Regions from separate parts of the Homo sapiens genome. Here region 2 is linked to region 1. Evidence: promoter capture Hi-C in human tissues and cell types (Jung and others, 2019). All regions are on one chromosome and are shown on one strand. The core of a region is centred on a gene start or on the middle of the fragment in contact, and the rest is flanking DNA. Distances in the headings are between cores, read along the strand shown.

The links. The method cuts DNA at HindIII sites, captures the fragments that hold promoters and counts their contacts. A contact is called where the count stands out against the background at its distance.
Region 2: a contact is called between a fragment that was not itself captured here and the fragment with the promoter of CD1C in region 1, in 2 of the 25 tissues and cell types used here (spleen and thymus).

Annotation. Positions count from the first base shown.
Region 1 is chr1:158,288,474-158,291,173 of GRCh38, reverse strand. CD1C (CD1c molecule) reads right to left here and starts at 1,251. Exons shown (of 6, transcript NM_001765.3): 1 at 1,049-1,251; 2 at 1-40. The coding sequence starts at 1,109. It also overlaps a transcript of CD1B not described here. The HindIII fragment of the contact is 10,692 bases long and covers 1-2,700 here.
Region 2 is chr1:158,433,218-158,435,917 of GRCh38, reverse strand. No RefSeq gene overlaps it. Among named protein-coding and RNA genes, the nearest start is that of OR10K2, 8.3 kb to the right of the region's middle. The HindIII fragment of the contact is 5,463 bases long and covers 1-2,700 here.

The DNA of each region.
Region 1 (2,700 bases), core at 2-2,501:
AAGATCTGGATGACATGGAAGGAGACGTGTTCCTGGGATGCTTTTGGTGGAAGAAGGGCAAGTAGTGTAAGGAAAAAAAAAAAAAGAGAGGCAAGGAAAATGGAGAGAAAATGGAAGGTGAACCAGTTACCACAGAGAAACATTAATGACTACTTTAGCTATACCATTTTCCTTACACAGAGCCCCATGCTCTGCCACCATCCTCTAAAAGAGTAAACTGGACCTGGAGAGAGGTATGCTCAAATGGCAACCATTCTGGCTTCTTCATTGATCCATCTTGGGAAAGCCCATCATGCTCAACCCAGATACATGTAACCTTGCAGCTGACAGAGATGTTCATACTATCTGCATTGTCACCACCGGGGAGGAGAAGAACTAGCAGCGGAAACTACAGAAACAGCATGTCATTTGCAGTTGTTTCCTTCTCTCAGAAAAGCCATTTGCTGATCTCTGTTCTTAGCAAACTTATCCCTCTACATCTATATTCTGACTTCCTTCTACCAACAGACAATCTTCCCCATCAGCCACTGACAGCAACTAAGACAATCTGCTTCCCTTAACCTTAGGCCTCCTACTCAATCTCTCATTTCCCCATCTGCTCTGAACTAAAGTTACTCTCTTCCCTTAGGATTTTAGCTGCTCTCCCACTAAGCTCCATCTTATCTACTTCCCTTCCTCAACTGCCTTAGACAAAGTGGTGCGTGGCATTGAAAGGTTGCTTCATCCCTCTGGACCTTGCGTGTCATTTGTAACATAAAAAGGAGAAACCACATCATTTTCCTGGGCCCTGATTGTTTTAACGGAAAATGGAGAGGAAATGGAAATTGAACCAGTTACCACAGAGAAACATTAATGACTACTTTAGCTATAACATTTTCCTTACACAGAGCCCATGCTCTGCCACCATCCTCCAAAAGAGTAAACTGGACCTGGAGACAGGTATGCTCAGATGGCAAGCATTCTGGCATCTCTATTGATCCATCTCGGGAAAGCCCAGCACACTCTACCCAGATACATGTAACCTTGCAGCTGACAGCGATGTTCTTACCGTCTGCATTGTCACCACCTGGGAGAAGAAGAGCTAGCAGCAGAAACTGCAGAAACAGCATGTCATTTGCAGATGTTTCTTTCTCTCAGAAAAGCTGTTTGCTGATCTCTGTTCTTAGCAAACTTATCCCTCTGTACCTATATTCTGACTTCCTTCTACCAACAATCTTCCCCATCAGCCGCTGACAGCAACTAAGAAGATCTGCTTCCCTCAACCTTGGTCCTCCTACTCAATCTCTCATTTCCCCACCTGCTCTGAACTAAAGTTATTCTCTTCTCTCAGGATTCCAGCTGCTCTGCCACTAAGCTCCATTATATCTACTTCCCTTCCTCAACTGCCTTAGACAAAGTGGTGTATGGCATTGAAAGAAAGGTCATTTTGTCCCTCTGGATTTTGCATGTCATTTGTAAGATAAAAAGGAGAAACCATGTCATTTTTTCAGTTCCTGCTTGTTTTAATAGATCACAGTTCTTCCAGTTTCTCCACTTAACTTTGCCTCCACTCTCCATAGTGTCCCCTCTTCTCATCACTCCATTCTTTCTTTCCCCCTTTTGAATGTCCTCAAAGTTTTCTCTTTCCAATTTCACCTCTTTTCACCCATCTTTCTTATTTCCTCATTCTCACTGATTCTTTTATAAATTGGAGACGTTGCTTTTTACATCTTCCAAGATTTCCCTGCACAATTATATAAACTACAGTCCACTCTACATTATCCTTAGAGATTAAATTGCAGCCATTCAGAATGCATAGGACCATAACAAATATAAAGAAGCCCTTCTACTGCATTTAATCTGTATAGTCATTCACTAAAAAATTACATAGTACATGGTTGATACCAGTGTCTTACTAGGCATATAAACACACAGAGGTTAACAATGTAATCTCTTCTATCAAAGAGTTTTAAACTGCAGATGTTTAAACAAAAAATTAAAATGCATTGTGATTTTAATTTCAATGTATAGAATCCCAGATACAAATCTACTTAGAACTATATTCTCTAGAGCAGCATTTTGACTGACTAACCCCCTGGGAAGTTCATAATTTGAAGTCCTGGAAGAACAGCATGCATCTCAACTAAATACTGAAAATTCTGTACAGTGTGGAATGGTATACGATTGTGATAGTCAGAACATGCAGCTTTTCAAGAGGACTCATACATGGGGAGACCACAAAAATCCAAATTTAAGTTGTTTTGTGATCTGACCAAAACACATTGTATAAAAAGGGCAGCATTTGTCAATGTTTGATTTAAGTAGTTTATATGAAGTATTCAGTGACTTATCAGTGACCCTGGCTGGTTAATATGTGTAAATACATGAACACAGTTTTTTTGAGATCCAGGAAATACATTTATTATTATAGTGTTTCTTAAATCATATTAATTATTCACTGAATGCATTGGAGCAGTCACTTAAAATCTGGGCATGAATTTGTGCTAGGCACAATGACTCATGCCTGTAATCCCAGCACTTTGGGAGACCAAGGTGGGAAGATCACTTGAGCCCAGGAGTTTGAGACCAGCCTGGGCAACAAAGTTAGACCTCATCTCGATAAAAAAATTAAAAAGTTGGCCAAATGTGGTGGCACATGCCTGTAGTCCCAGCTAAATGGGAGGCAGAGGCAGGAAGATCTTTTGAGCCCTGAAAGTCAGG
Region 2 (2,700 bases), core at 89-2,588, 140 kb before region 1:
TTGTGAATCCAGGTACAGACTTTGATTTGTGTACTTTTGTGTATGTTACACTATAATAAAAGTTTCTTAAAATTTAGGAAAGAATCAGATTGAAAGGCTAAATTGAAAATACAAAGGCAAAGGAATAATGGACAATTTCTAGTTTATGGATATAAATTGTTAGTTTAATATACAAAACACTATTGTTTTCTAATTGTTTCTTACTCCATAAATATATTAAAACTCCATGAGGACAAGAACTGTATCTCATTTATCTTTACAACCCCAGAACTATCAGAATAGTCTAAGTCATAGAGTAGTTATTCAGTAAATACATACTTAATAAAATGTTTAACCTTCTGTTTATAGCAAAAGTATCTAACAAATAAATGAATAAATACATTTCTACAATGATTTTGATTATTTTTATAATCGATTATCATGTGTCAGTTACTTCCTATTTTGAAAAATGAACTTATACCAATATCCATTTGTATGCTGGCATTAGGCATTTCTCTCTGTTATTTTTCACAACCTGCCCTCAACCTAAAAACACACTGGGGGCCTGGCTATGAGCCATCTGGTCCACAGCCCAGAGACAAAATTGAACTTCAGAGATCTGACACTTAGAATGGATTACTTATTTCCTCCTCTCCTCTCCTTTTCAACTATTCCCATTTCAGGCTGAGACTTATCCTGACTGTGCAGGAGGACGAATATAGAGGATGTGGAAGGAGAAAAACTGAGCAAAAGAGGGATATTTGGCTTTCATCCTTTTAGTTCTTCTTGGAGAGATGCCTGTAGAGCAAGGAAGTGAGATAGGTCTCTGAAATTCAGACCACGAAAAAGAAGAACAAACAAAGATGTGAAGGAATGCCAGGCATAATTTTAAAAGAAGGAACTATTGAGAAGAGAAGAGAAAAATAAGGTGGGTGGTATGGAAATGTCAGGTGATTTTGAAATGCTCTTTGGAGCAAAATAACAGAAGTTGAAGTTATTCAGTTCAAGGGCTGCAGAACCACACTCTTGTGTCTGTTTTACGGAAGGGAGAGGAAATATGGGTAAATGGGCTGGGATGTTTGGAAATAAGTCACAGTAAGTCCTCATGTCTTGTCCTTTGTCATCTCGAACTCCTGAGGCCCTGAAGAGGTTGGAGAGTGGGAATTGTACTAGGGAAGGTCTGGACAATCTTCATCCAGAGTAATGATTCACATAAACCAGACATCTGGGTGGGCTGAGGCAAGATAAATAAACCTATGCTTTTCACTTAGGCTATAAATCTGATATTTAAGGTGTGGTACAGCCACATTATTTCATAGTACTTCTTCCGTTCTACTCAGATATCCAATAACTACTTAGGGTTTCATTAATATGGCCAACACTTCCCTATTAGAAATCACATTCCTCGCATGTTTTATACCTGTGAACAACATGACTTTTACATATTTATATTGTCTATTGAATTAGCTAGTGTGAAATTTGCTGTTTAATTTTTGGTCTAAAATTTAGTAAATAAATTGGGCCTCATGGAATATATTTCTATGTCATGAGTCCTCCAAAATTCACCTTATTAGTACATCATTACTTTACCTTTGCCCTAATTTGTTAACATATCTATGTAATATGTTTATTCTTGCCTTAATAGTACCTATTTTAAATCATCTCAAATCCTTTCTGAAATGAGATATGTTCTTATTATTTAGGAATTTTTGGGTTGTAAATAACAGATAATCCAATTCAAACTGGCACTAGCAAGCAATAAATCTATTGTCCCACATAAGCTAAGAAATCTGGTGGTATAATGGTTTCAGGTACAGCTTGATTCAAAGTTCAAACTATTATCTGGATGCATCTCATAGAGCTGCTTCTTGTGACTTGGTTCTATTTTTAGGCTAAACACAGTAGTCTCGATACTTTCAGCTTATAAAATCTAGTCAAGAGGAAGAGAGAATTTGTTTCATCAGATGTTAAAATAAGCATCATTAGATGGAATTTTTTTGCTCCTGATTGTCCAGAATTGGAGCATATGCCCATCCTTAACCTGATATTTTAGCAAAGAAACTCCAATGTCCTGACCACCTGAGTTAGTGCATGGCACCTATTGCTCTCTGAAACTTTAGGATGAAGCAATTAGATGAGACTGGAGACAAAACAAACCAAAATAAAGTTGGGCCACTATTAGGATAAGTAGTGGGAGTGAACCACAAAAACCAAATGTCCAGCATTTTGGTATGTTAAATGCCACTCTTCTTGCTTCTTACTTCTCTGGGCATCATTTGTTGCTCTCAGTAACATTTTTGTTTTTGGTATCATTATTTCTTCATCAACCAGATTATTGGTGAGCTCTTACTAATCACCGAAGTATTGTTAGAAGTCCTTAATACCCACTGACATAGGGATGGAAAGTGATGTTGAAATTATATTAATTAGGTGGCTGGCAAGATGGCTGAATAGGAACAGCTACAGTCTACAGCTCCCAGTGAGATCAGCACAGAAGGTGGATGATTTCTGCATTTCCAACTGAGGTACCTGGCTCATCTCACTGGGACTTGTTAGACAGTGAGTGCAGCCCACAGAGGGTGAGCCAAAGCAGGGTGGGGCATTGCCTCACCTGGGAAGGGTAAGGGGTTGGGGAGCTCCCTCCCCTAGGCAAGGGAAGCCCTGAGGGACCATGCCATGAGGGACAGTGCATTCCCACCCAGATACTATGCTTTTCCCACA